Linked DNA regions of Homo sapiens: all the other regions are linked to region 1. Evidence: promoter capture Hi-C in 16 types of primary human blood cells and fetal thymus (Javierre and others, 2016). All regions are on one chromosome and are shown on one strand. Each heading gives the region's core, a stretch centred on a gene start or on the middle of the fragment in contact. The rest is flanking DNA. Distances are from core to core; before and after follow the strand shown.

The links. Contacts are between HindIII fragments. The CHiCAGO score rates a contact against its expected background, and 5 or more counts as called.
Region 2: the fragment with the promoter of CLEC11A here is called in contact with the fragment with the promoter of MYH14 in region 1 in 7 of 17 cell types (total CD8 T cells, total B cells, naive B cells and 4 more); the score reaches 8.0 in total CD8 T cells.
Region 3: the fragment with the promoter of KLK6 here is called in contact with the fragment with the promoter of MYH14 in region 1 in 8 of 17 cell types (naive CD8 T cells, naive B cells, total CD4 T cells and 5 more); the score reaches 7.0 in naive CD8 T cells.
Region 4: a contact is called between the fragment with the promoter of KLK3 here and the fragment with the promoter of MYH14 in region 1, in 3 of 17 cell types (naive B cells, naive CD4 T cells and total B cells). The highest score is 6.2, in naive B cells.
Region 5: a contact is called between the fragment with the promoter of KLK11 here and the fragment with the promoter of MYH14 in region 1, in 10 of 17 cell types (total B cells, naive CD8 T cells, total CD8 T cells and 7 more). The highest score is 11.2, in total B cells.
Region 6: the fragment with the promoter of KLK2 here is called in contact with the fragment with the promoter of MYH14 in region 1 in 10 of 17 cell types (naive CD8 T cells, total CD4 T cells, non-activated CD4 T cells and 7 more); the score reaches 12.7 in naive CD8 T cells.
Region 7: a contact is called between the fragment with the promoter of KLK8 here and the fragment with the promoter of MYH14 in region 1, in 1 of 17 cell types (naive CD4 T cells). The highest score is 5.7, in naive CD4 T cells.

The regions. Positions count from the first base shown.
Region 1 is chr19:50,202,139-50,206,264 of GRCh38, forward strand. MYH14 (myosin heavy chain 14) reads left to right here and starts at 1,484. Exons shown (of 43, transcript NM_001145809.2): 1 at 1,484-1,533. LOC124904746 (a long non-coding RNA gene) reads right to left here and starts at 1,838. Exons shown (of 3, transcript XR_007067298.1): 1 at 1,675-1,838. RefSeq lists a silencer at 3,206-3,305. The HindIII fragment of the contact is 8,559 bases long and covers 830-4,126 here.
Region 2 is chr19:50,721,819-50,726,041 of GRCh38, forward strand. CLEC11A (C-type lectin domain containing 11A) reads left to right here and starts at 1,546. Exons shown (of 4, transcript NM_002975.3): 1 at 1,546-1,854; 2 at 2,087-2,273; 3 at 2,592-2,783; 4 at 3,204-3,890. The coding sequence starts at 1,708. The coding sequence ends at 3,649. RefSeq lists silencers at 2,895-3,014, 3,055-3,114. The HindIII fragment of the contact is 4,317 bases long and covers 61-4,223 here.
Region 3 is chr19:50,968,336-50,972,600 of GRCh38, forward strand. KLK6 (kallikrein related peptidase 6) reads right to left here and starts at 1,256. Exons shown (of 7, transcript NM_002774.4): 1 at 1,155-1,256; 2 at 206-256. LOC105372442 (a long non-coding RNA gene) reads left to right here. Exons shown (of 7, transcript XR_007067308.1): 4 at 1-18. The HindIII fragment of the contact is 4,765 bases long and covers 1-4,144 here.
Region 4 is chr19:50,852,478-50,856,331 of GRCh38, forward strand. KLK3 (kallikrein related peptidase 3) reads left to right here and starts at 2,438. Exons shown (of 5, transcript NM_001648.2): 1 at 2,438-2,524; 2 at 3,763-3,854. The coding sequence starts at 2,479. RefSeq lists promoters at 1-2,449, 1,816-2,475, 1,898-2,449, 2,114-2,449, enhancers at 2,037-2,071, 2,264-2,286 and cis regulatory regions at 2,280-2,404, 2,349-2,412. The HindIII fragment of the contact is 5,758 bases long and covers 1-2,444 here.
Region 5 is chr19:51,024,658-51,028,497 of GRCh38, forward strand. KLK11 (kallikrein related peptidase 11) reads right to left here and starts at 1,959. Exons shown (of 6, transcript NM_001136032.3): 1 at 1,881-1,959; 2 at 935-1,009; 3 at 1-137. The coding sequence starts at 974. RefSeq lists enhancers at 1,038-1,596, 1,597-2,154, 2,714-3,270. The HindIII fragment of the contact is 2,362 bases long and covers 1,233-3,594 here.
Region 6 is chr19:50,872,183-50,876,079 of GRCh38, forward strand. KLK2 (kallikrein related peptidase 2) reads left to right here and starts at 1,257. Exons shown (of 5, transcript NM_005551.5): 1 at 1,257-1,337; 2 at 2,539-2,698. The coding sequence starts at 1,292. RefSeq lists promoters at 1-1,282, 657-1,282, 929-1,282, an enhancer at 1,081-1,095 and a cis regulatory region at 1,081-1,095. The HindIII fragment of the contact is 10,018 bases long and covers 1-3,897 here.
Region 7 is chr19:50,999,035-51,003,320 of GRCh38, forward strand. KLK8 (kallikrein related peptidase 8) reads right to left here and starts at 2,570. Exons shown (of 6, transcript NM_007196.4): 1 at 2,498-2,570; 2 at 2,064-2,141; 3 at 1,390-1,549; 4 at 962-1,224. The coding sequence starts at 2,133. KLK9 (kallikrein related peptidase 9) reads right to left here. Exons shown (of 5, transcript NM_012315.2): 5 at 3,474-4,226. The coding sequence ends at 4,077. The HindIII fragment of the contact is 2,221 bases long and covers 886-3,106 here.

The DNA of each region.
Region 1 (4,126 bases), core at 234-2,733:
GAAAGGCCTCTTGGAAGAGGTGATATTGGAGCAGAACGGATGATGTGGGAGAGAGGTTGTCATGCAAAACCTGGGGAAGAGCATTCCTGGTGGACCCAACAGAGAATGCAAAGGCCTTGGGGCAGCACCAGGCCTCCTGGTTTGAGAAATTGAGCCAGTGTAGCTGGAGCAGTATGAAGGGGAGGGCCTGGGGGTGAGATCAGAGAGAGCAAAAGGGCCAGCCACATCCCGCAGGACCTCATTGGCCATGGTGAGTTCTTAGACTTTTACTGAGTGAAATGGGAGCCATGGAAGGCTCTGAACAGAGGAAAGGCCCCATCTGAATAGAGTAGACTGTAGGGAGAGCAAGGGTGAAGGCAGACAGTCCATCACTCCCATTTTACGAGTGCAGAAATAAATGGAATCTCAAAAAAGTCCAGCAACTGGCCTGAGCCCACACAGCTGCTGAGCAGCCGAGCCAAGCTGGCAGGCCTCCTTGGGTTCAGTGGAGCCATTCCTTTGTGCCCTTGGCTCTTTTTATTTTCCTTTTAAATAGAGATGGGGCCTATGTTGCCCAGGCTGGTCTTGACCTCCTGGGCTCAAGTGATCCTCCCACCCTGGCCTCCCAAAGTGTTGGGATTACAGGTGTGAGCCACGGCACCCTTCCAACCTTGGGAAGTCTTTTGGCTCTCCTGAGCCTCAGTTTTCCCATCTGTAAATTGTAAATGGGGAATCATTACCACGTTTGGGCATAGCATGGCGGTTAAAAGCACAACTTCTGGTTGGATCTGAGTCCTTGCTCTGCCATCGGCCAGCTCTGTGACTTTCTGCAATTAACACCCTCTTTCTAAGCTTGGGGTTACCTCATCTAGAAGATGAAGATCTTAATAGCACCAATTTCAAGGGCTTCGTTGTAAGGATTAAATGAGATCATGCAGGTAAGGCGCTTAGCACAGCTCCCGGTCTACATCGAAGTGCTTGATAAACGATCATTGTTATTCCGATAGTATCACGGCCCACACCTCCCCGGTGGGTGAGAGCCTGGGAGGGTGCCTGGTACATGGTCTACGTTCGACAAAAGTGAATTCTGTCTCCTGTCTCTCCTGCCCGCCGGGTCCCGGGGGACCCAGGCATTCCGGCCTTCGGTCGGCCCCCCCACGCCGGCCCTTACAAAGGCCCCCATTCATGCCTTGCGCACAAAGCGGCCCATTCACCCTGGCCCCTTGGGCCTCCCGCCCCCGGCCGCCCCCCGCGCCTCGCTATTGGTGGCGCCCCGTGCCCATCAGGCCTCGGCTTCCACCCCCGACCGCGCCGCCTAGCTCCGCGCCCGGGCCGCGTTCTTTTCCCACGGCTGGCACCCTTCGACAACTTCTGATTGGCCCAGCCCGCCAGCCGCTCTTTTTGATTGGCGGCTCCCGTCCCCCAGGGGCGGGGCCGTAGCTTGCCGCAGCGGGCGCCGATTGGCCTCTGCTGCTCTCTTGGGGGCGGGGCTGTCCTGGCGGACACGCCCCTCTTTCTCCCCAGGCCGAAGCCTCGGGACGGCCCTGGAAGCCGGTGAGTGCCCGGGGCCGGCAGCCCTCCGGGGGCGGCGGAACGGGACTGAGCCAGGGGAAGCTGGAGCCTGGGGGCTGCGATCGGGGCCCGGGAGCCCGGGCAGGCGGCCGGGGACGGCGGGGAGGTGACGCGGACACTCACCTTGGGCGCGCAGCGGGACGGCGGCGAGGGAGGTGGGGGGGCGGGACGTCTACACTCCCCCAACTCCAGTTGCCGCCGTGTGCGAGGCCCGGTCGGGGTCCTCGTTGTCAGCCCCGGGCCTGTTCCGCAGAAGGGGAAACTGAGGCTGTCTTTGGAACCTCGGCCGCTTTAATACCTGAGTCATCGCCTCCAGTCCCCCGCCCCCAGCATGACATGTCTCTGTTCTCACGTGTCAGAATCGGAGGCCAGAGAGAGGGGTCGTGACTGGAAGAGGCGGAGGGGTAGGGAAGGACATATTTGAGAACCTATGATGTACTTGGACGCTTTTATTTTTTATAACTAAATAATTTCCTTTCCTTATCGTGTTGACTCGAGGTGAGTTATATTGTACCCATTATACAGAGAGGGGAAGGCTGAGACTGGGCCGAATTGGTGACTGCAGGGGGACCTGGTGGAGAAGAACACTCCAGAGACCAACTGTGTGCTGGGTCCTTTAACCTTTTCAGTCCCACAGGAGTCCCCTAAGGAAAGCGGTGGTCCCTGTGGCATAGATGGGGAAGCAGGTTGGTAGTAATCACCAACTGGGACGCAGAAATTCATGTCTTTAGGGACCTGCTACAAGTTCTTTCCAGACCCCCTCCTTTAGAATGGCAGAAAACGGTATAGGCTTGAATTCCAGACCTCCCTCTTACGCTGTGTGATCTTGAGTGCCTTACTTTGACCCTTCCTGCCTCAGTTTCCACATCAGAGAAATGGACATGCTGATCACCCCTATGTCATTGGTTGTTGAGGTTATTCTAGGCCGGGCGCAGTGGCTCAGGCCTGTAATCCCAGCACTTTGGGAGGTGGAAGCGAAAGAATCGCTTGAGCCCAGGAGTTCGAGACCAGCTTGGGCAACACAGCGAGACTTCGTCTCTACAAAAAGTAAAAGAGTTAGCCGGGCGTGGTGGCGTGACCCTGCTGTCCCAGCTACTCGGGAGGCTGAGCAGGGAGGATCGGTTGAGCCCAGGAGGTCAAGGCTGCAGTGAGCCATGATCGTGGCATTGCACTCCAAGCTGGGCAACAGAGAGAGACCCTGTCTCTCCCTCTTTTTTTTTTTTTAAATCATTTTATGATCTCAAAGAGCTGTTCTAAGAGGAGAAAATACCCGACACATAGTAGGTACTCTTATCACCATGTAGTCTTTATTTCACTCCCGAGACTGAAGCTCAGGACAGAATACCATTGTCCTCTTCTTTGGTACTCTTACTGTCTATAGATTTTGTTGTTCCCTTCCCGCAGTTGGGAAACTGAGGCTCAGGGAGATTAATGATGAAGCACTGGGCTGGGGAACTTTCTGAACGTCGTTTTATTAATTTCACTGGCCGCAATGCACAGCAGGGAAAGCTGAGGCCCAGGAAGCTCCAGCGGGGTTTGAATCCCGGGAATCCTCAGCCTTCTCCGCGGCGGGCCCTCGACCTTTGCCCTCCATAAGGGGGAGGAGCCCCTGGCGCCGCCGCCGCCGCCGCCCACCTGGCAACAGGCTCAACCCCCGCCTTCCCCCGGCCCCCGTCAGAGGCCCTGAAGCTCCAGGCCCGCCCCGTTCCCAGCCGGGCAGGTGCTGGGTGACATCAGAGCCGGGCTCCCGCCCTGTGACGCGACGGGGCCCCGCCCTGCGCTGGACCGCGGAGGTCGCTGCACCTGAAGAGAACGGGGATTCCCGCGCCCTCACCCCATCTCCCCGCTCCGGTCGGCGCCCCCAGGTAGCCCCGAGGATCTGCGAGTTGAGGGGGCGGCGACACAGGCGCTTGGGTCCAGGGGAATGGGTACGGGGCTCTCAGACTCCTGGATCTGAGAAGGGGCCTTGGGGGCCGGCTGTCCCAGGTCTGAGGAAGGACTGCGCCGCGAGCCCGAACTTCTGGGTCCTGGGGGAGGAAAGGACTGGGGCCAGGACTGCAGAGCTGGGGTCTTAGGGGAGGAGGGGGCTGCAAGCCCGGATTCTGGGGTCTGTAGGAGCAGGGGCTGGGGGCCTGAACTCCTGGGTCTGAGACAGGAGGGCATTGAGTACTGGGACTCCGGAAACCCAGCGCTAGAAGCCAGGGTCAGACGGCTGGATGCCAAGGGCCCCAACCTCTGCCCCAGGGCGGATCCCTGGCTGCTTTTCTTTTTCAAGCCCAGCAGTCTCGGCCCCTCCCAGGGCAGGTGCTTTCACCTGCCCAGGTGACAGTAATTAGCCCTGGCAGAGTGTTCCTGCTGGTTGAGGAAGGGTAGGGCAGTCAGAGAGGCTCGGCCACTTGGAGCCAAGGCCTGCAGGCCCTGCCCGCCCCATCAGGGCTGTGATCCATCTTCAGAACTCAGCATCCTCACCTCTAGCCCGGCTGCAGTGAGGTGAGGGGGCCTGCACTTCCCAATCCATAGGAGGAGGGGGCTGGGGGCTCAGACTCCTGGGTCCTGGGAGAGGAGGAGGCTGGGA
Region 2 (4,223 bases), core at 296-2,795, 520 kb after region 1:
CTCTACCTACCCTGCCACCACCACCCTGGGAACTTGGGTGCCAGCAAACCAAAGAGGTGAAGCTTCCAGGCCTTTGACCCCACCAGGAACGGCTACCCTCTCGCCCACTCAACAGGTTGATTGAACACCTACTATGTGCTAGGTAGGCCTTGTGCTAGGAGATGCATCAGTGCATAAAAATCCCTGCTTTCATTGGCAGGGAACAGACATAAACAAACAAGATCATGCCAGTCTTGATTATACCAAAAAGATGAAATGGGGCATTTTAATAAAGTAACTTGCGGAATAGATAAGGTGGTTGGGGAAGACCTCCTGGAGCTGAGACCTCGATGATGAGAAGGAGCTGGGGAAAGAGGCTTCTAGAAGGAGGAAAGGGCTAGTGCAAATGCTCTGAGGTTGTAATCAGCTTAGTATTTGGGGATGAGCCAAGAGGCCAGGGAAGGTGGAGGCTGGGGGTGGGTGAAGGGAATGGGGGTGATGAGGCTGCAGAGGTGCAAAGGGTTCTTCCTTCCCAGCCCCCAGCATGGTAGGCTGCGCTGAGGACTGAGGCCCGGGCTTGGCTTCCCTCCTGCTTATGATGGGAAGGTGGGGGAGCAGGGGAGTGGGGAGTGATGTGATCTGATTTATGGTTTGGAAGGATTGCTTTGGCTGCGGCAAGCAGCCGGGATTGGAGGGGCTCAGGAGGAAGGAGGGGGAGGGCGAGACTGCAGTGGTCCAGGCTGAAATGAGGTGGCTTGCTGAATGCTCAGAGCTCCTTGAGCACACAACCTAGCGTCTGTCGATTTCACCTCCTGGAGAAACCTTCCCTGACTGCTCCGCCAGACTCCTCACCCTCTCCCATCTCCAGCCCCCTCATCCCCGGAGCTATCTGGCTGCTGGTCTGCAAGCAGCTGGAGTCCCCAGCATCACCCAGCCCACAGCCTGGCCTGCAGGAGGCTTCTAGTAAAGTGGCCAATTAATCCCCGAGCCCCGTCTTCCAGGGTCATGCACACAGTCACACGCGTGCTCTTCACATGTGTCACCCTGCCCCCACACACACTCACTTGGATCTCCAGACAAGGGCTTGGAGGGTAGGATGGGCAATCTAGGGGGCAGGAGGGGCCCTGGAGTCTCCTCCATTGAGTGTGCAGGCGATGGTGGCCACAGGGTAATAACAACCTCAGCGAGACCCTGAGGTCTGCCCCTCCTTAGGAATGGCCAGGCAGGGAAGAAGGGAGCAGTGCTCGGTCCCAGCATCCCACCACTGCCGAGATGGTTCTGAGCGGGTTCCTGGGCTGAGGCCGGGGCCTGTGTTTTCCAAGATTCCTTGGAGAGCCAGCTCCATCCTCTTCCTGATTATCTGATCTTTGGGCTACAGCAGAAGGAAAGAGCAGGGCGGAAGCGAGCTCTGGAAAGTGGAAAGAGGAGGGTGTGCGAGGAGACCCAAGGCGGGATCTAGGCTTTGGAACGTTGGAGGTTTCCGGCCACAGAGGCAGGGCCTCCGGGGAGCCAAGAGGGGCGGGGAGAGACACACACAGAGAAGCAGAGGAGACCAACGGACCGGACAGAGACGAGGAGAGGAACAGGAAGAGAGAAGCTGGGAGAATCGGGAACCTGGGGGCTAGTGACCTGCACACAGGGCAGGGGCACTCGGCAGTTCCCAGAGGCCACCCCTCCCACCCCAGACATCCAGACATCTGGAACTTTGGGTGCCAAGAGTCCAGCTTAATGCAGGCAGCCTGGCTTTTGGGGGCTTTGGTGGTCCCCCAGCTCTTGGGCTTTGGCCATGGGGCTCGGGGAGCAGAGAGGGAGTGGGAGGGAGGCTGGGGAGGTGCCCAGGAGGAGGAGCGGGAGAGGGAGGCCCTGATGCTGAAGGTGAGCTCTGGAGTGTCAGGGAGCTATGGGTGGTGAACTGTGGGTCTGGGAGGGGGTATTGCAAGGTTAGGGAAATGGACAATGAGGAGCGATTGGGATAGTCTCAGAGGAGTGGGAGGGTGATGGGCTCAGAGACAGGACTCAGGCAGCAGAGAATGAGTTATGAGTTGGAAAGGGGTGAATGGGGCATCTTGGTGGCAGGCTGGGGCTCACCACCCCTCCCCTGCCCCAGCATCTGCAGGAAGCCCTAGGACTGCCTGCTGGGAGGGGGGATGAGAATCCTGCCGGAACTGTTGAGGGAAAAGAGGACTGGGAGATGGAGGAGGACCAGGGGGAGGAAGAGGAGGAGGAAGCAACGCCAACCCCATCCTCCGGCCCCAGCCCCTCTCCCACCCCTGAGGACATCGTCACTTACATCCGTGAGTAACCAGAAGCCCTCACCCCCAAACTCCTAGGCCGCCGCGGTCACTTTCGCAAAAATGAAGGGTCGGTTCACTGCCAAGTGGCCTTTCAGTTGTCCATTGCCCAGCCCAGAGCCCCCACACCCCTAGGAGCCCCAGGTCCACGGCCATGCCTCCTAAAGGCCTGGGCCACTCGACCCTACCTTCCAGGAGTCCGGGGTGCCCCCCCCACCGCCACCCCGCCCTCAGGAGCCCTAGATCCCAGTTCTCCAGGTCCTCAGGCCCCCCGCTGCATCTCCAGGCTCCCCCTCCAGCATGATCCCTGTCTGTCCGCAGTGGGCCGCCTGGCCGGCCTGGACGCAGGCCTGCACCAGCTGCACGTCCGTCTGCACGCGTTGGACACCCGCGTGGTCGAGCTGACCCAGGGGCTGCGGCAGCTGCGGAACGCGGCAGGCGACACCCGCGATGCCGTGCAAGCCCTGCAGGAGGCGCAGGGTCGCGCCGAGCGCGAGCACGGCCGCTTGGAGGGTGAGTCCGCGGCGCGCGGGGTGGAAAAAAATGAGACTATCTGGGCCAGGAATGGGACTGGTTGAGAAGGTGACCCTAGGTGTCCGGGGCGGGAGAGTTCGGGAGAGCTGCTGTGTGCTAGCGGACGGGGTTAGAGAGCTGGGAGGCTGAATGCAGGGAGCGGGTGGGCACTCCAGACCCGCGCGGACCCGACTGGGGCAGCACCACGCCCCCTACAGTCCAGCTCCCACCGCCTGGCCCCGCCCCTGGCGGACCAGACTCTCCACCTCCTGGCTCCCGCGGTTCTGACCACGCCTCCTCCCAGCCCTCCCCATGAGTTCCTGGCCCCGCCTCCCTCCACCCCCGGATGTTTTGTCCTCGCCCCCTTCCAGACTCTGAATGCATGACCCCGCCTCCTTCTCTACCCGGCCCCGCCCACAGGCTGCCTGAAGGGGCTGCGCCTGGGCCACAAGTGCTTCCTGCTCTCGCGCGACTTCGAAGCTCAGGCGGCGGCGCAGGCGCGGTGCACGGCGCGGGGCGGGAGCCTGGCGCAGCCGGCAGACCGCCAGCAGATGGAGGCGCTCACTCGGTACCTGCGCGCGGCGCTCGCTCCCTACAACTGGCCCGTGTGGCTGGGCGTGCACGATCGGCGCGCCGAGGGCCTCTACCTCTTCGAAAACGGCCAGCGCGTGTCCTTCTTCGCCTGGCATCGCTCACCCCGCCCCGAGCTCGGCGCCCAGCCCAGCGCCTCGCCGCATCCGCTCAGCCCGGACCAGCCCAACGGTGGCACGCTCGAGAACTGCGTGGCGCAGGCCTCTGACGACGGCTCCTGGTGGGACCACGACTGCCAGCGGCGTCTCTACTACGTCTGCGAGTTCCCCTTCTAGCGGGGCCGGTACCCCGCCTCCCTGCCCATCCCACCACCCGGCCTTTCCCTGCGCCGTGCCCACCCTCCTCCGGAATCTCCCTTCCCTTCCTGGCCACGAATGGCAGCGTCCTCCCCGACCCCCAGTCTGGGCGCTTCTGGGAGGGCTCTTGCGGTGCCGGCACTCCTCCTTGTTAGTGTCTTTCCTTGAAGGGGCGGGCACCAGGCTAGGTCCGGTGCCAATAAATCCTTGTGGAATCTGACTTGAGGGGCAGTGAAGGCAGTCTTGGACTTTATCTCCTGCAGGGGAAGCCGGGAAGGGCCAGACCCTGGTCTTTGGGCGCGTGTCCTGGCCTTTGGATGCCTGTTCTGCTTTTTACAGATGTCATTTGAGCCCCAGATGGAGTGATGGAGAAACACAGGTGCATATGTACACACGGTCATCTGTTCTGTGCACAGATGGCCGGAGTACACGCGTACAAACGCTGTAGACACCTTCACCTCCATCGTGCCCTCTCTCTCGGCCTTTGGGACCCAGGGCCTGCCAGTTGTCCCAGGCCTTGGTCTTGGTCCTGGTCAAAGAGATTTGGGAAACG
Region 3 (4,265 bases), core at 6-2,505, 770 kb after region 1:
CTGGTCCAGTAACCCATGGTGAGATTCTGATTAGATCTTTCTACTTTCTTGGGCACTGATTTGCCTTCCTGTCGACAGGAGAGGGTTACCCTAGGGGGCCCTAGCGTTCTTCCTCTGTATGGGAGTTTTCCTCGGAGCCTGGCTCTGTGCGCAATGGCCACCCACCCCGCCCACCCGGCAGGTTCTGTGATGTCTGTGATCTCACCTGCTGCAGGCCTCCGGGCTCCGGGGATTCTTGAGTCGGGGGAAGGAACAGCTTTGAGACGAGGAGGCAGAAAGAGTTAGAAATGCGGGGAGCCGTGAGGAGAGAAGACACTCAGATGCAGTGGCAGAGCCAAGCGGAGGACGCAGGGGCCGCAGAGCCCAGGGCTGCAGGGACTGCCAGACACACACCCCCAGCTCCCAGGCCTCCCTGGAAGAGGCTGGTTCTGTCCCCAGATGCTTCTGGAACGTCCTTTTAACCCCTGTCTCTCAGGTCCCTGAGCCAGGAGACTGGCTACACCCTTTTCCTCCTTACCCAGGCCTCCCACACACATTCCTCCCGCCCCCACGCTCTGCTCTTGGTGACCCCTGACCAGGCCTCCAGGGAAGGGAGCACTGGTCCCTGAGTGCAGTGAGGGCCTGGACTCCTGGGTCTGAGGGAGGAGGGGCTTGGGGGCCTGGACTCCTGAGTCTGAGGGAGGAGGGGCTGGGGGCCTGGACCCTTGCGTCTGAGGGAGGAGGGGCTTGGGGCCTGGACTCCTGGGTCTGAGGGAGGAGGTGAGAACTTGGACTCCTGGGTCTGAGGGAGGAGGGGCTGGGGGCCTGGACTCCTGAGTCTGAGGGAGGAGGTGGGAACTTGGACTCCTGGGTCTGAGGGAGGAGGGGCTAGGACCTAAACTCCTGGGTCTGAGGGAGGAGGGGCTGGGGCCTGAATCTGAGGCAGAGGAAGTTCTAGTCGGCTCAGTCCTTAGACCTCCGGGTTTTGGAGAAAGAAAGTGTCTGAAGACAAATTCCGGCCTCTGGGGCAAGCAGATGGTGCCCCAGGCCTCCCTGCACCCCCAGCACTCTCTGTGCCACCCAGGGACCTGCAGGCCCTCACTCCGGGCTCTAGAGCCCTCCGGCACTGGGAAGCAGCCTGCCCAGGTTCAGTGCGGTTGGGGTGACTCACACACCTGCCCGTAGGTCCCTCTGTGTGCTGCCTGCCGACCTCTGTGTCCCCAGGAGAGAGCGAGCCAGCCAGCCGGGGAGACAGCTACAGCGTGTGTCACCACACTGGCCCCCGCCCCTGCCCCGGGCTGGGGAGCAGGCCCAGGCGCGATGGGGAAAGGGCCCAGGAACAATCGGGCTTTGTCCGCCCCCAGCACCCCAGTGCCATGCTCCCAGCAGCTCCGGCCTCAACCTCTCTTCCGGCGGGCAGGCGGGAGGGCGGTTACATCAATGGCTTCCTTTTGTCCCTGTCTGACAGTCCTCCTTTGCAGTCTCTGACTGCCCACCTGGCCCTGACTGGAGATTTCGGCACTCCACATCCTCCTGGTCCTTCTCCTCCAAGTCTGCCCACCCCTGAGGTCTCTTGCTCCATCTGTCTCCCTGGCCATGGAGGGGAGGGAGCTTCCATCTCTCTCTCTCTCCCATCTCAGTCTCTGTATTTGTGTCTCTCTCCCTCTTTTTTTCTCTCTCTCCCTTCCTCTCTCCCTTCCTCTCTCCCTTCCTCCCTTCCTTCCTTCCTTCTTTCTTTCCTTCCTTCTTTTCTTTCTTTCTTTCTTTTTTTTTGACGGAGTCTTGCTCTGTCACTCAGGCTGGAGTGCAGTGGTGTGATCTCAGTTCACTGCAACCTCCGCCTCCTGAGTTCAAGCAGTTCTCCTGCCTCAGCTTCCCAAGTAGCTGGGATTACAGGCACCCACCACCACGCCCGGCTAAATGTTTTTTGTATTTTTAGTAGGGAAGAGGTTTCACCATGTTGGCCAGGCTGGTCTCAAACTCCTGACCTCAGGTGATCCACCCACCTTGGCCTCCCAAAGTGCTGGATTACAGGTGTGAGCCACTGTGCCCGGCCTCTCTCCCTTTCTTTCCCCTTGATTCTCTGACTCTCCGTGCTTATCTTCTCCTGGGTCTCTTCTTAGATTTCCCCGGGGGTAGCACTGTGTGTGCCCAGAAGGGAGTCAGTTTCCCCAGGAAGTAGCGGGGATGATTCCCGAGCGATGAGGAAGCTAGCAGGATGGAAGAGGACTTGAGGACTTATTGATGAGATGCGGACACACAGCGAGAGGCATGGAGTTAAGCAGAAATCGGAGAGCACTTGGGAACGACGTGGGGCTGTGATAAGATGGTGGTGCTGGGCAGTAGCAGAGGGATCTGGGAAGATTTAGGGAGGTGTCTTTGAACTTGGGCCTAGAAAGCTGAGCCAGGCGTAGGTCAGGAGGAAAGGCCGTGAAAATGCCTGGCCTGGGTGCACATGGGAAACCACAGGCAGTGGTTGGGGTGGTTGGTATGGGCTGGAGGGTGAGGGTGTGTGCGTGGCAGAGTGGAGAGAAATGAGGAGGGGGAAGTCACTGCGTAATAAGGACAATGATAGGAATGAAGTCTGGCTCAGCACCTGCTTGGGCTGGGCACTACAGGTAACTTAAAAAAAAAAGTTCTTTTTTCTTTTGAGACAAGGTCTTGTTCTGTCGCCTAGGCTGGAGTGCAGTGGCACGATCCTTGCTCGTGGCAGCCTCAACCCTCCTGGGCTCAAGCGACCCTCCCGCCTCAGTCTTCCCAGGAGCTGGGACCATAGGCATGAGCCACTGTTCCCAGCCAACCCTTTTCTTTGTCTTGCATTGAATCTAATTGTCATCTTGCATTGTGCACCCCCCATCACTCCAGGGATGAAGACTACTTCGGTATTCAGTATACTCTCCGGGTGCTCCCTCTCACATTTGGTCCCCACTGACCTCAGCACCTTCTTCTCAGGACGTGCTATCTTCACAGACAGCAAGTCTGATGTTGCACAACCCAGTGACCAGGCCCTATCCCTCTGCCTCCTCTCTCTGGGGGGTCCCTTCCTCTCTGTACCCACACCCTCAACCCCAACTCAGAGCTGCACCTCTCCCACCTGGACCAGGATCCCTCTGTTCTCTGTATCCCTTGCCCCAGAGAGACCTTCCTGTGCCTTGTGCTGACCTTGCCCCTCCTCTCACAGACGTGCCCTGGGTCCCCATCTCCCTTGGGACCAAGTCCCAGCCCCCCAGCCTGGCATTTGAGGACCTTTAGCATCCAGGGAAGTCCTGGCCAATGAAATGTGATGCCAAGCACGCATGCACATTTACATTTTCCAATCACCATACTTTTTTTTTTAAGTCAGAAGATTTTTTAAGTGTCCTTACCACAAAAAATAAGGGTGTAAAATAATGCATATGTTAAATAGCTTGGTTTAGCCATTCCACAACATATACATACATATATCAAACATGATGTTATACACCAGAAATATATACAATTTTTACTTGTCAATTAAAAAATAAATTTAAGGCCAGGCATGGTGGCTCATGTCTGTAATCCCAGCACTTTGAGAGGCCAAGGTGGGTAGATAGCTTGAGTCCGGAAGTTCATGACCAGCCTGGGCAACATAGTGAGAAACCATCTCTGCAAAAAGTAAAAAAATTAGCCAGATGTGGTGGTGCACACTTGTAGTCCCAGCTACTCCGGAGGCTGAGGCGGGAGAATTGCTGAGCCTGGGAGGTCGAGCCTGCAGTGAGCTGTGACTATACCACTGCACCCCAGCCTGACATGGCTGGGCAAGGTGGCTCATGCCTGTAATCCAAGCACTTTGGGAGGCAGAGGTGGGAAGATCACTTGAGCCTAGGAGTTCGAGACCAGCCTGGACAATATAGTGAGACCCTATCTCTAAAAAAAAAAACAAAAAAAAGAAAAGAAAAAAATTACCTAGGTGTGGTGGCACACATCTGTGGTCCCAGCTATGCAGAAGGCTGAGGTGGGATAGTTGCTTGAGCCTGGAGGCCCAGGTTGCAGTAAGCCATAATCACGCCACTGCACTTCAGTGTGACAGAGCCAGACCCTGTCAAAAATTTTTTTAAAAGGAGTCCTGAGTGGTGAGTGGCCCTCACACTGCATGACACAGCTATGTCTACGTCTCCGTGTGGCTCCAGCTTTCTAGAACACATCAAGCTTCCCTGACCCATGCCATGCCCTCTGGCCTCTGGCCCTTCACTGAATGCTATTCCCTCTTCTTCTTGAGATGGAGTCTCGCTCTGTCGCCCAGGCTGGAGTGATGTGGCGCGATCTCT
Region 4 (3,854 bases), core at 1,188-3,687, 650 kb after region 1:
TCAGACATCCTTGGGGATTGAACTGGGGATGAAGCTGGGTTTGATTTTGGAGGTAGAAGACGTGGAAGTAGCTGTCAGATTTGACAGTGGCCATGAGTTTTGTTTGATGGGGAATCAAACAATGGGGGAAGACATAAGGGTTGGCTTGTTAGGTTAAGTTGCGTTGGGTTGATGGGGTCGGGGCTGTGTATAATGCAGTTGGATTGGTTTGTATTAAATTGGGTTGGGTCAGGTTTTGGTTGAGGATGAGTTGAGGATATGCTTGGGGACACCGGATCCATGAGGTTCTCACTGGAGTGGAGACAAACTTCCTTTCCAGGATGAATCCGGGGAAGCCTTAATTCACGTGTAGGGGAGGTCAGGCCACTGGCTAAGTATATCCTTCCACTCCAGCTCTAAGATGGTCTTAAATTGTGATTATCTATATCCACCTCTGTCTCCCTCACTGTGCTTGGAGTTTACCTGATCACTCAACTAGAAACAGGGGAAGATTTTATCAAATTCTTTTTTTTTTTTTTTTTTTTTTTGAGACAGAGTCTCACTCTGTTGCCCAGGCTGGAGTGCAGTGGCGCAGTCTCGGCTCACTGCAACCTCTGCCTCCCAGGTTCAAGTGATTCTCCTGCCTCAGCCTCCTGAGTTGCTGGGATTACAGGCATGCAGCACCATGCCCAGCTAATTTTTGTATTTTTAGTAGAGATGGGGTTTCACCAATGTTTGCCAGGCTGGCCTCGAACTCCTGACCTGGTGATCCACCTGCCTCAGCCTCCCAAAGTGCTGGGATTACAGGCGTCAGCCACCGCGCCCAGCCACTTTTGTCAAATTCTTGAGACACAGCTCGGGCTGGATCAAGTGAGCTACTCTGGTTTTATTGAACAGCTGAAATAACCAACTTTTTGGAAATTGATGAAATCTTACGGAGTTAACAGTGGAGGTACCAGGGCTCTTAAGAGTTCCCGATTCTCTTCTGAGACTACAAATTGTGATTTTGCATGCCACCTTAATCTTTTTTTTTTTTTTTTTAAATCGAGGTTTCAGTCTCATTCTATTTCCCAGGCTGGAGTTCAATGGCGTGATCACAGCTCACTGTAGCCTTGAACTCCTGGCCTTAAGAGATTCTCCTGCTTCGGTCTCCCAATAGCTAAGACTACAGTAGTCCACCACCATATCCAGATAATTTTTAAATTTTTTGGGGGGCCGGGCACAGTGGCTCACGCCTGTAATCCCAACACCATGGGAGGCTGAGATGGGTGGATCACGAGGTCAGGAGTTTGAGACCAGCCTGACCAACATGGTGAAACTCTGTCTCTACTAAAAAAAAAAAAAATAGAAAAATTAGCCGGGCGTGGTGGCACACGGCACCTGTAATCCCAGCTACTGAGGAGGCTGAGGCAGGAGAATCACTTGAACCCAGAAGGCAGAGGTTGCAATGAGCCGAGATTGCGCCACTGCACTCCAGCCTGGGTGACAGAGTGAGACTCTGTCTCAAAAAAAAAAAATTTTTTTTTTTTTTTTGTAGAGATGGATCTTGCTTTGTTTCTCTGGTTGGCCTTGAACTCCTGGCTTCAAGTGATCCTCCTACCTTGGCCTCGGAAAGTGTTGGGATTACAGGCGTGAGCCACCATGACTGACCTGTCGTTTAATCTTGAGGTACATAAACCTGGCTCCTAAAGGCTAAATATTTTGTTGGAGAAGGGGCATTGGATTTTGCATGAGGATGATTCTGACCTGGGAGGGCAGGTCAGCAGGCATCTCTGTTGCACAGATAGAGTGCACAGGTCTGGAGAACAAGGAGTGGGGGGTTATTGGAATTCCACATTGTTTGCTGCACGTTGGATTTTGAAATGCTAGGGAACTTTGGGAGACTCATATTTCTGGGCTAGAGGATCTGTGGACCACAAGATCTTTTTATGATGACAGTAGCAATGTATCTGTGGAGCTGGATTCTGGGTTGGGAGTGCAAGGAAAAGAATGTACTAAATGCCAAGACATCTATTTCAGGAGCATGAGGAATAAAAGTTCTAGTTTCTGGTCTCAGAGTGGTGCAGGGATCAGGGAGTCTCACAATCTCCTGAGTGCTGGTGTCTTAGGGCACACTGGGTCTTGGAGTGCAAAGGATCTAGGCACGTGAGGCTTTGTATGAAGAATCGGGGATCGTACCCACCCCCTGTTTCTGTTTCATCCTGGGCGTGTCTCCTCTGCCTTTGTCCCCTAGATGAAGTCTCCATGAGCTACAGGGCCTGGTGCATCCAGGGTGATCTAGTAATTGCAGAACAGCAAGTGCTAGCTCTCCCTCCCCTTCCACAGCTCTGGGTGTGGGAGGGGGTTGTCCAGCCTCCAGCAGCATGGGGAGGGCCTTGGTCAGCCTCTGGGTGCCAGCAGGGCAGGGGCGGAGTCCTGGGGAATGAAGGTTTTATAGGGCTCCTGGGGGAGGCTCCCCAGCCCCAAGCTTACCACCTGCACCCGGAGAGCTGTGTCACCATGTGGGTCCCGGTTGTCTTCCTCACCCTGTCCGTGACGTGGATTGGTGAGAGGGGCCATGGTTGGGGGGATGCAGGAGAGGGAGCCAGCCCTGACTGTCAAGCTGAGGCTCTTTCCCCCCCAACCCAGCACCCCAGCCCAGACAGGGAGCTGGGCTCTTTTCTGTCTCTCCCAGCCCCACTCCAAGCCCATACCCCCAGCCCCTCCATATTGCAACAGTCCTCACTCCCACACCAGGTCCCCGCTCCCTCCCACTTACCCCAGAACTTTCTCCCCATTGCCCAGCCAGCTCCCTGCTCCCAGCTGCTTTACTAAAGGGGAAGTTCCTGGGCATCTCCGTGTTTCTCTTTGTGGGGCTCAAAACCTCCAAGGACCTCTCTCAATGCCATTGGTTCCTTGGACCGTATCACTGGTCCACCTCCTGAGCCCCTCAATCCTATCACAGTCTACTGACTTTTCCCATTCAGCTGTGAGTGCCCAACCCTATCCCAGAGACCTTGATGCTTGGCCTCCCAATCTTGCCCTAGGATACCCAGATGCCAACCAGACACCTCCTTCTTCCTAGCCAGGCTATCTGGCCTGAGACAACAAATGGGTCCCTCAGTCTGGCAATGGGACTCTGAGAACTCCTCATTCCCTGACTCTTAGCCCCAGACTCTTCATTCAGTGGCCCACATTTTCCTTAGGAAAAACATGAGCATCCCCAGCCACAACTGCCAGCTCTCTGATTCCCCAAATCTGCATCCTTTTCAAAACCTAAAAACAAAAAGAAAAACAAATAAAACAAAACCAACTCAGACCAGAACTGTTTTCTCAACCTGGGACTTCCTAAACTTTCCAAAACCTTCCTCTTCCAGCAACTGAACCTCGCCATAAGGCACTTATCCCTGGTTCCTAGCACCGCTTATCCCCTCAGAATCCACAACTTGTACCAAGTTTCCCTTCTCCCAGTCCAAGACCCCAAATCACCACAAAGGACCCAATCCCCAGACTCAAGATATGGTCTGGGCGCTGTCTTGTGTCTCCTACCCTGATCCCTGGGTTCAACTCTGCTCCCAGAGCATGAAGCCTCTCCACCAGCACCAGCCACCAACCTGCAAACCTAGGGAAGATTGACAGAATTCCCAGCCTTTCCCAGCTCCCCCTGCCCATGTCCCAGGACTCCCAGCCTTGGTTCTCTGCCCCCGTGTCTTTTCAAACCCACATCCTAAATCCATCTCCTATCCGAGTCCCCCAGTTCCTCCTGTCAACCCTGATTCCCCTGATCTAGCACCCCCTCTGCAGGTGCTGCACCCCTCATCCTGTCTCGGATTGTGGGAGGCTGGGAGTGCGAGAAGCATTCCCAACCCTGGCAGGTGCTTGTGGCCTCTCGTGGC
Region 5 (3,840 bases), core at 709-3,208, 820 kb after region 1:
TGTCAGGAGCCATCTGGGGGCGATGAGCGTCGCCCCACAGAGTAGCCGCGTCTTCTCGAACAGGGCTGCCTGCCAGGGCTGGGAGTGAGGCTTGCACTCGAACCCCTTGATGATCCTGGTCTCTCCCCCTACAAGCCCTGGAGGGGGTGAGAGCAAAAGAAGGGGCTCAGGAAGGAGAGGTGGTAGACCAGGAGGACTCCCAGAAATGGGGGTGGGGAGGAGAGAAAGAGAGTGGGTGGTCTGGGCCCTGGTCTGGTGTCCCTCTGGGTTGCCCTGGATGCTGGGGTCGGGTATTAAAGGATGAAAATACTTCCATAAGGTCAAATGCAGTGGCTCATGCCTGTAATCCCAGCACTTTGAGAGGCTAAGGTGGGAGGATTACTTGAGCCCAGGAGTTCTAGATCAGCCTAGGCAAACATAGTGAGACCTCCTCCCCCATCTCTACAAACAATTAAACAATTAGCCTGGCTTGGTGGCAGGTGCCTGTGGTCCCAGCTACCGGGGAAGCTGAGATGGCTTAAGGATCACTTAAGCCCGGGAAGTCAAGACTGCAGTGAGCCGTGTTGGCACCACGGCACTCCAGCCTGGACAATAGAGCAAGACTTTGTCTCTGGGAAAAAAAAAAAAGGAAATACTTCCATACTGGTTGGTCAGTAGCCCCTGTCCTGGGCGCTTTGAGTGACTGCTCCCCCAACTCCAGCTTCCTCAGCCCCTCCACGGGACCCTTTACGACCCCCTTGACCTCTCCTCCTTTGGCATTTAAAGGGATTATCTAGAAGGGCATCCAGGCCCTCATGACCACTGCTCCAGTTCAGGTGCCTTATGGGTTGTTCTGTAATTTGGAATCAGCCCTGTCACTGTCCAGACACAGAGGGTTAGGGGATCCCAGAGATTCAAGAGGGAGGATCCTGCCCTGCCCCCATCCCCTGCGTACCTGTTGCCAGAGCAAGCAGGATTAACTGCAGAATCCTCATGGCCTGGAGGGGGGAGGAGCGGGCCCCAGGTTCCTCTGGGAACAAGGAGGGACATGGGGCCGCATCACTTTACGGGGAAATCGGGAGGGGGGGGCTGGCTCATGCCCTCTCCTCTCTCCCTCACCTGCTCCCGCTCCCCACTTGGGAGAAACAAGGTTGGGGAAATCCCCTGTTTCTCACAGCACTCAGATCTCCAAACACTTAAAATATATCTTAGGTGTCTAGGGTGGCCTTGGAGAGGGCCTGGTCACAGCTAGAAGCTTCCGAGATACCAAGAACCATGTGGAAGTCGTTGGGAGGGGCTTTGAGCTGTCAAGCCATGGTTCGGCCCTGTTCAAGTCAGCCATGGGACCTCCCCGGCACATGTCAGAGGATGTTTTCCTTCTTGCCTTGAGAGCTGGCCAGGCCCCAGCAGCTTGGGGTGGAAGGACAAGGGGAACCAGACACCGTTCCGTAGCCACCCCTTTTTCATTGTCTTCGCAGCAGAGCGATATGGAGCCTTTGAGGTCTGCTGGAGGGGAGTAGGGGGCTCAGCCCCAGACAATGTCTGGGACCCCCATCACCCGGCTTGCTGAAGCCCTGTCCGCCAAACCCCTGCCCTTTTGAAGGACAGCCAAGCAAAGCTGGGCGGGGCTGGTCGAGGGGAGGGCCAGTGCCCTCCGCTGCCCTGGCCAGCGGGGGTGGGAGCAGAGGGCCAGCTCAGCAGCTGAAGCCATGGAGATTAGAGGTAACTGAGGCTGCGGACAGCCATCGGAGGTGAGAGGTGTAGAGAGAGGCCAGGAACCCCCACCCAAGCAGAGAAGGACAGAGCAGAGGGAGAAATGGGTGCCCGAGTGGGACAGGTGTCCTTGGGGAGGGCTGACACCTGGACGGGGAGGGGCAGCTTCCCTTTCCTCCTGGACTCACAGGCTCTGGGGCTGGGGCTCTGGGGGCCCAGTGGCGGCGGAGACGGCAGTGGCGGCAGCTACAGCAGGTAGGCTGGGTTGGAGCGCCAGGTGCCAGGCACCAGGCAGGCGGGCTGGCAGGGGGGCGGCCCTGGGCGGGCCCAGGATGACTGGCCTCCAAGCCCTGCCTTAATGCCCCGGGGCGGGGTGTGTGTGAGGGCCCTCCCCGGAGGCCTCTGAGGCACTGGCTGCCTGCCTGTGCCACCTCTCCAAGCCCCTCTTCTCCCTGTGTCTCAGCCTCCCTCTGTCTGTCTGTCTGTCTGCAGCCTTCCTTTCCCTGCCCTGAGTCTCTGAATCTGTGTCTCGTTCTATGTGTCATTCCCTGTCATTCAGTAATTCTGACTTTGTGTGATTTTTCTCTTTCTGTCCCTATGTGTCTGTCTGCCTTTCTCTGTCCTCGTCCCTGTCTCCATCTCCACTCTTCTCTCTCTGTCTGGCTCTGTGTGGCCCTTTCTCTAATTCCTTCTATCTTTGTGTCTCTCAGTCAGTCTCTCTGACTGCATCTCTGGCAATTTGTCTTGAAATCCCTCTTCTTCCATCTAATCTCCGTCTCTCTTTTTCCTCCCGTCCCAGCCACTCCCTCTCCACAGCCCCAGCCCAGGTGGGCCCCTGGCCTCCCCTAGGCCGCTCCCTTCTCCTTTGCAAGGAGAGGGGGGGTGTGCTGGGATGTCACACAGGTGGGGCTGCTGCCAGGCACAGGGGCAGGACCGGAGGGTGGGGGAGGCAGGTCAGGGCCTGTGGAAGCCGAGTCCAGGAAAGGGAACAGAGCCCTTGGCTGTGCTCCACCCCAGGGCTCCTCTGGGGCCTCGCTCCTCTGCTGACCCTTCCCCTGCCCGCTTCTCCCTGCCGCCCAGGCAGCCCGAGTCCAGCTGTTCACTTACTGGCTGCTGTGAGACCTCTGCCCGATGACTTCCAGTCCCGCAGCCACCTCAACCTCTGCATCTGCGGAACCCGAGCGCAGATTCCTGCTTCTCCCAGCTTGTTTGTTTTCAGTTAGGTCCCTTCCCTTGGCTTTCCTCCCCTCTCTCCCCTGACCAGGTGTGGAGCAAGGCAGGGGAGGGCCTAGGTTCTGACAGCAGCCAGCCCTGGCCTCAAACCTAGGTGCTTCCTCTTCCTACTACTATGACTACCCTTATGACGTGGGGACAAGGGACTCCACCCCTGCAAGGCTCAGTTTCTTCATCTGAGAGATGGGGGTGACAGACCTGCTTGCAGGGGAGGTTGGGATCAGGCTTCCAGGAGGGTCCACTTGGAAAGAGCAGACTGCGGGGGGGCTCAGCAAATGTGCCTCCGCTGGTATGATCACCCCTCACTCCCTCCCTCCTCCAGTTTCCCTTCAGTGCATTTGGGGAGATGGTCTCTCCTCACCTCTTGAGTCCCAGTGGAGACAGAATCCAAGGGGTGGGCAGGAGGATTAAAGACGTAGGCTGAGCTCTCCTGCTTTCCAAGCCTGCACTCCACCCTTCGTCTTATTAGAACAAAGCCACGTCCCACATTAAAGATACAATGTATGCTTCATTACAAGAAAGTAAACTGCAGTTGGCTAGTGGAAAGAATGCTACGTTTTATGGACATTGGATTAAATGGTCATAAATGTTGACTTTGCAGCTTTCATCTGGTATTTTGGAGCTAACAATTTTCTTTTTCTTTTTCGGGTCTTTTGTGGACTCTTGAAAAGCTTATAAGCTCTGGGCACTATTTCTATTATGCCAGATGAAGAAACATGTGTCTTATTTATATTGCTGGGTTTTTGTTTTTGAGACAAGGTCTCACTTTATTGCCCAGGCTGGAGTGCAGTGGCATGATCTCGGCTCTTTGCAGCCTCCACCTCCCCGGCTCGGGTGATCCTCCCACCTCAGCTTCCCAAGTAGCTGGGACTACAGGCACGCACCACCACACCCAGCTAATTTTTTGTGTTTTTG
Region 6 (3,897 bases), core at 7-2,506, 670 kb after region 1:
CCCTGGCTGATCTTGAACTTCTGACTTCAAGTGATTCTTCAGCCTTGGACTCCCAAAGCACTGGGATTGCTGGCATGAGCCACTCACCGTGCCTGGCTTGCAGCTTAATCTTGGAGTGTATAAACCTGGCTCCTGATAGCTAGACATTTCAGTGAGAAGGAGGCATTGGATTTTGCATGAGGACAATTCTGACCTAGGAGGGCAGGTCAACAGGAATCCCCGCTGTACCTGTACGTTGTACAGGCATGGAGAATGAGGAGTGAGGAGCCACCGGAACCCCATATTGTTTAGTGGACATTGGATTTTGAAATAATAGGGAACTTGGTCTGGGAGAGTCATATTTCTGGATTGGACAATATGTGGTATCACAAGGTTTTATGATGAGGGAGAAATGTATGTGGGGAACCATTTTCTGAGTGTGGAAGTGCAAGAATCAGAGAGTACTGAATGCCAACGCTTCTATTTCAGGAACATGGTAAGTTGGAGGTCCAGCTTCTGGGCTCAGACGGGTATAGGGACCAGGAAGTCTCACAATCCGATCATTCTGATATTTCAGGGCATATTAGGTTTGGGGTGCAAAGGAAGTACTTGGGACTTAGGCACATGAGACTTTGTATTGAAAATCAATGATTGGGGCTGGCCGTGGTGGCTCACGCCTGTAATCTCATCACTTTGGGAGACCGAAGTGGGAGGATGGCTTGAGCCCAGGAGTTGGAGACCAGCCTAGGCAACATAGCCAGACCCTCTCTCTACAAAAAAATTAAAAATTAGCTGGATGTGGTGGTGCATGCTTGTGGTCTCAGCTATCCTGGAGGCTGAGACAGGAGAATCGGTTGAGTCTGGGAGTTCAAGGCTACAGGGAGCTGCGATCACGCCGCTGCACTCCAGCCTGGGAAACAGAGTGAGACTGTCTCAGAATTTTTTTAAAAAAGAATCAGTGATCATCCCAACCCCTGTTGCTGTTCATCCTGAGCCTGCCTTCTCTGGCTTTGTTCCCTAGATCACATCTCCATGATCCATAGGCCCTGCCCAATCTGACCTCACACCGTGGGAATGCCTCCAGACTGATCTAGTATGTGTGGAACAGCAAGTGCTGGCTCTCCCTCCCCTTCCACAGCTCTGGGTGTGGGAGGGGGTTGTCCAGCCTCCAGCAGCATGGGGAGGGCCTTGGTCAGCATCTAGGTGCCAACAGGGCAAGGGCGGGGTCCTGGAGAATGAAGGCTTTATAGGGCTCCTCAGGGAGGCCCCCCAGCCCCAAACTCACCACCTGGCCGTGGACACCTGTGTCAGCATGTGGGACCTGGTTCTCTCCATCGCCTTGTCTGTGGGGTGCACTGGTGAGATTGGGGGGATAAAGGAAGGGGGGCGGGTTCTGACTCTTATGCTGAAGCCCTTTTCCTCCCACCCAGTGCCCCAGCCTCGTCCCTTCAGCCCACAGTTCAGCCCAGACAATGTGCCCCTGACTCTTCCACATTGCAATAGTCCTCATGCCCACACTAGGTCCCCGCTCCCTCCCACTTACCTCAGACCTTTCTCTCCATTGCCCAGCCAAATCCCTGCTCCCAGCTGCTTTACTAAAGAGCAAGTTCCTGGGCATCTCTGTGTTTCTCTTTATGGGGTTCAAAACCTTTCAAGGACCTCTCTCCATGCCACTGGTTCCTTGGACCCTATCACTGGGCTGCCTCCTGAGCCCCTCAGTCCTACCACAGTCTACTGACTTTTCCTATTCAGCTGTGAGCATTCAACCCTGTCCCCTGGACCTTGACACCTGGCTCCCCAACCCTGTCCCAGGAAACCCAGATTCCACCAGACACTTCCTTCTTCCCCCCGAGGCTATCTGGCCTGAGACAACAAATGCTGCCTCCCACCCTGAGTCTGGCACTGGGACTTTCAGAACTCCTCCTTCCCTGACTCTTTGCCCCAGACCCGTCATTCAATGGCTAGCTTTTTCCATGGGAAAAACACGAGCACCCCCAACCACAACGGCCAGTTCTCTGATTCCCTAAATCCGCACCCTTTTCAAAACCTCAAAAACAAAACAAAACAAAACAAAGCAAGAAACAACTCAGGCAGAACTGTTTGCTTAACCTTGGACATGGTAAACCATCCAAAACCTTCCTCTCCCAGCAACTAAACCTCTCCACTGGGCACTTATCCTTGGTTTCTGGAACCTCTTATTCTCTTAGAACCCACAGCTGCCACCACAGTGTCCCTTCTCCCAGTGTAAGACCCCAAATCACTCCAAATGACCCAACCCCCAACCCGATGCCTGCTTCAGATGTTTCCCATGTCCCCTACTCTGATCTCTGGGGTCAGCTCCGTTCTCAGAGCATGAAGCCTCCCGACCTGGTCCAGCCACCAACCCGCTAACGCAGGGAATAGCTACAGAATTGCCAGCCCTCCCAGGACCCCTTGCTTGTGTCCTGGACTCCCAGTCCTGGTCCTCTGCCCCCATGTCTCTTCAAACCCACAGCTCAGCTCCCTCCCCTATCCAATTCTTTTGGGTCTGATCCCCCTGACCCAGCACCCCCTCCGCAGGTGCCGTGCCCCTCATCCAGTCTCGGATTGTGGGAGGCTGGGAGTGTGAGAAGCATTCCCAACCCTGGCAGGTGGCTGTGTACAGTCATGGATGGGCACACTGTGGGGGTGTCCTGGTGCACCCCCAGTGGGTGCTCACAGCTGCCCATTGCCTAAAGAAGTAAGTAGGACCCTGGGATCTGGGGAGGGAATGGCTGTGTCCCACAGGAATAACAGCGGGATGCTTCCCCCAGGGTCACTTCTCAGGTGAGGCTTCAGACTAAAGGAGAGAGGGAAGGTCCTGGCCCAGGTCGCACCCGGAGGCAGAGCTGGGGCTGGACCACTCTCCCCATGGCTGCCTGGGTTTCTCTCTGTGTCTGATCTCGCTGTGTCTCTTGGTATCTGGCTCTGGTTGTGTCTGTATGACTGTGTTTTGGTCTCTATGTCCCTCTCTCTTTTCTGTCTCCCTGTGTCTGTGTCTCCCCCGTCTCTGTCTCTGGGTCTCTCTGTGGCCATCTCTGTCACCGTGTGTCTCACCCTGCATCTCTTTGCCTGTCTTTCTCTCTGGGTCTCTGCCTCAGCCCTTCCTCATCACTACTGAACACACCCCGTGAGGGTGGGTGGGGAGCACCCAGAAAAAGGAAGGACTTTAAGCTCAATGTGTGTGCATGTGAGGGGGTGCCTGTCATTGCACAGCACTCTCTGCAGGACATCCCTCCACCCTGGGGAGACACAGGGAGGGCTGGTTTCAGCTGTAGCTGGGTGCACAATTGAGGAGGGAGGAAGGAGAAGGGGAAACAAGAAAGGAGGGGAAGGTGGCCGGGCACGGTGGCCCACGCCTGTAATCCCAGCACTTTGGGAGGCCGAGGTGGGTGGATCATCTGAGGTCAGGAGTTTGAAACCAGCCTGGCCAACATGGCAAAACCCCGTCTCTACTAAAAATACAAAAAGTAGCCAGGCGTGGTGCTGCGCGCCTGTAATCCCAATTACTAGGGAGGCTGAGGCAGGAGAATCGCTTGAACCCGGGAGGGAGAGGTTGCAGTGAGCCGAGATCGTGCCACTGCACTCCAGCCTGGGTGACAGAGCAAGACTCCATCTCAGAAAAAACAAACAAACAAACAAACAACAAAAAAAATCGAAAGGAGGGGAAGGGAGCTGGAGAGAGAAAGGGGGACGTGGCCCTGAGCTGTGGGCCGGGCCACCCGCCACTACAGAGCCCTCACTCCAGCCCCAGCTGCAGGTGAGCCACCCTCATGCCTCTCCTCCTCCCCCTGCTACTCCACACTCCTCAGATGCCCCCGTGGCCTCCCTCCTTTTTCTCTCCCACACTGTATCACCCCTGGCTTCCTCTCTGCTGTTTCTCCTTCTCTCTCTGACTTC
Region 7 (4,286 bases), core at 1,320-3,819, 800 kb after region 1:
CTGAATGCTGACTTTGCCACTTCCTGGAGAAGCTCCTTGACTCTCTTAGGTGAGTCCCAATGTTTTCACTGTGAAGGAAGGCGAGGGGCTCTCTGGATTCTGGAGTCCCAAAGGGACAGCTTCATTGGAGGTCCAGATTTTGGGGTCCAGAGTCAAGAGGGAGCTAGGACTGCTGGGTCCTGGGAGAAGAAGGGCCTAGACTCCCGGGTCTGAGGGAAGAGGTGACCAGGGCCCAGGTTTCCTGGGTTCAAGAAGGAGAAAAAGGCCAGGGGCGGTGGCTCATGCTTGTAATCCCAGCACTTTGGTAGGCCGAGGCGGGCAGATCACTTGAGGTCAGGAGTTCGAGACCAGCCTGGTCAACATGGCGAAACCCTGTCTCTACAACAAATACAAAAATTAGCTCGCGTGGTGGCGGGTGCCTGTAATCCCAGCTACTCGGGAGGCTGAGGTTCGAGAATCGCTTAAACCCAGGAGGCAGAGATTGTAGTGAGCTGAGATTGTGCCACTGCACTCCAGCCTGGGCGATTGAGTGAAACTGTGTCCCCCTGCAAAAAAAAAAAAAAAAAAAAAAAAAAAAAAAAAAAAAAAAAGGAGGGAGGTGGGGGAGAAGGTGCTTAGGAGCCTGTTTTCCTGGGCCTCTGAGAAGTCCAAATATCCCAAGTGTGTTAAGATTATATAAAATCCTATACAACCAAAGGTCCCATAGGGTAGTGCTCTCCGCCATACAGGATGGGCTTTTCTGGCCCTGCTTAACAATCTGCTAGTTGGTTCTTTCTCTCACCACTCTTGTTAGTAGTCAGATCTTCGAGGCTTCTCATATGACTCCTGCTTGTGAATCTCAACATCATGATCACTTTCCCTTCTTTGTCTCCCTCTGGGGGACCAAGCTTTGCCAATAGCTTGGGTTCCACTGGGCCAACCAGCTCCTCCTCTCCCTCCCATTAGTGGACAAGCCCACTACCTCGGGGACTGGTGACAGTGCCCCAGCCTGAGACGGTGCACTTCTGGCCAGGCTGGGTGCAATGATCTGCCAGGCTGATGGGCTTCACTTTGGACCCCAGGGATGCCTGGTCACGCAGTTGAAGAAGCATCAGATCATGGTTGTGGTCCTCCACATCGCTGCTGTTGTAGCAGGGGTGTGGGATGGACTGAACCACAGGTATTTCTTGCTCTGGGCCATCTTTATTCTGTAGGCTGTGGTCTCCCAGGCGTACTGTGTATTTCCTGTAATGGTGGGGATAGTTTGGGACCCAGGCAGGGGTATTGCCCCCAGCCCCCTCCTCCTTCAGACCCAGGAGTCCAGTCCTCAGCTCTCTCCTTCCTGAGTCGAAACCCCAGCCCCCTCTTTCCTTAAGCCCCAGCTGACCTCTGCCCCCATCATCCACTCACGGTTTTTTACAGTGGGCAGCTGTAAGGACCCAGTTGCCACCTACAAGGACACCGCCACAGAGTAGTTGCTGGCCCTGGAACAAGGCCGCCTGCCAAGGCTGCGAATGGGGTTGGCACTCATGACCCCCCAGCACCTTGTCCTCCTGTGCCCTGGAGTGTCCTGCAGCAGGAGGGAGAGGGTTGGATCGCCACCCTCTGGGGCAGTGCGAGGGCTGGGAAGGCCACTGTGGGTTCAAATGGACACACGGCAAGTTCTCCGCATACAACTTAGTGAGGAGGTCCAGGCTTCCACACGCTGCCACACGGGGACACTCATTTCAGTCCATGTGTCATCATACAAGAGTCACACACCCAAGAATGCCCCCACATGCTTCCACATGAGTCTACAGGCCCCGAGTACTCCCAGGTGAATCTATGCCCCCAAGCAAGCAGCCCCCAAAGGCTGTAGCTATTCAGACAATTTACAGCATCACGGAACCTACTCCTACCTGCTGCTACCTGTTTCTTGCCTCTGTCCACCCTGAGGAAAGCCCACAGAGGCTCCTGCACCGTATCGCACTCTTCACATCCGTGCACACGCACCCACATAACCCCCGCGGCATTCCCACAGACTCCCCAGCGCCACTGCTGCCTTCAGATCCCTCCCCTCCGGAGGCCTCCGCAACCCTCCTCACCTGCCCAGGCTCCCCCCAGCAAGAGCAGGAACATCCACGTCTTGGCCGCACGAGGTCGGGGGCGTCCCATGGTGAGGTCTGGGAAATGGAGAGGGCGGGGCCGGTAAACAGGAAGGAGGAGCCTGAGCTCCCAGTTCTGGATTTGGGCACTGGGGAGGCAGCCGAGAGTATCTGGGGCTGTTCTGGGCTTCTCTGGAGGAAGGAGGAGGCTGGGGGACTGGATTCCTACATTCCAAGGGAGGGGGGAGTCCTCGATGTCTGGGTCTGAGGGGACAGGGAGCTGGGAGCTGGGACTCCTAAATTAGGGAGAGGAGGAAGCCGGGGTCCAGACTGCTGGATCTCGACAGAGAAGGGCATCTGAGGCTGGGGTCCTGGAATCTGGAGAAGGAGGGTCCGGGGCCTGATGTCTGTATCTGAGTACCTCTGCACCTCACCTTCCAGAATCCAGGGGCGGGGTCACCTACTGATTCGGACCCAGTGGAGGAGGCCCCAGTACTTCAGTTCTCTGCCTGGTACACGATTCTGGAGCCTTTTAACTGGGAATCTCCACCTCCTGCTCCTCCTCCTTCTCCTCCTGCACTAGAGCCTGGGGAGCTTCTGGGAACTGGAACACTGGGTGTGAGTGAGAAGGGGCGGAGGGGATTGAACGTGAAATCTTGAGGGAGGAGGGGCTGGAATCTCAGACTCCTGAGGCTAGGGAGAGGAGGGACTCGGTGCTGAGACTCTACGATCTGAAACATAAAGGGCTGGGGGCCAAGATTTTAGTTCTGAGAGGGGAGGAGGCTGGGGGCCTGGATTCCTGGGTCTGAGGGAGGAGAGGCTGGGGGCCTGGACTCCTAAATCTAAGGGAGGAGGGACTGGGACCTGGGATTTAGGTCTGACCGAGGAGGGGCTGGGGGCCCAGACTCCTGGGTCTGAGGGAGGAGGGGGCTGCTAGGGGCCAGGACTCCTGGGTCTGAGGGAGGAGGGGCTAGGGGCCTGGATTCCTGGGTGTGAGGGAGGAGAGAGCTGGGGGCTGAATTCTAAGTACTTTTAAAAGGAGAAGCTTGGAACCTGATCTTTTGTGGGAGGAGGGGGCTGCTGCCAGTAACCGGGAACCGAAGAAAGGCAGGTCTTCTAGGGTCAGAAACCAGAGGGTGGATCAGGCCCCGCCCGCTGTCCCCTGAGAGGTCCGGGATCTGGGAGGGCAGGTTTGGGAGGCACTGTGACCTGGTTTCCCCTTCCCCTGGAGGCGGCAAGACCAACCCAAGCAGAACCCAGGAGTCTTGCTGCAATAGGGCTGATGGACAGAGACTTTAGGCAAAACTTACTAGGGGTTTAAGGGGGAGTTGCAAGGCGGTACCGGTTCCCTCATCTGCCCTTCACCGCCCACCCGTTTGCTCTCCACTCATCTCACAGCTCAGGCAGAAAGAAGGTGAGGTTTCCCGCGTTTACTGAAAAATCATCCGTTGCATTGGCTCTAAAGGTATCCAGACCCTCCCTCAATTTCCCCCCAGGTCTCCGCCAGGATTCAAACCCAGCACACGCCCAGGACGGGGCCACAAGGGGCTGAGCTCTACACCGCCCGAGCTCCACGTGGGCGGAGCTACTGCGCCCCTGACATCACGAGGGGCGAGATCTCTGGTGAAGGAGGCGGGGCCACAAGGGGTGGAGTCCCGAGGGGAAGTCCCACTGGGCAAAGTTCCGAGGGGCGGAGCTATTTTGTGTAAGTGGTTCCTTGGGGCGGAGCCACAGGCTGTGCTGTTCCAAGAAGGAGGTGATGGCTGTCGGTGACGTCATAGAGACGGGCTCTGAAGGGCGTGTCCCTGCTCCGTTCCGAGGGGGCGCGACTGTGTCTTGCTTGACCTCGTGAGGGGGCGGAGCCTCAGGGGCGGAGTCTTAGTGTCCAGAGGGGAGTCAGGGCAGCTGGAGGTCCAGGGCGGGAACCATTGAGGCTGGGACCCTACGAGAACCCCCTACCCCGTGCCCTTCGGCCTCTCTTGGTCTTCCAAGGTGCCCCCGTGGCGCGCGGGCTCAGTTCTCCATGATTTCTTGGATCCAGTCAAGGTAGTGGCATACGCTGGTGTAGACTGCGGGGCGCCGGGGTCTGGAGCAGGGCTCAGCACCCCCAGACACCACGCCTGCCAAGGTTCCATTGCAAACCAGGGGGCCCCCAGAGTCACCCTGTACGCGAGAGAAGGGCAGAGGAACTGTTAGGCCACTCTGTTCATGACAATTACACGG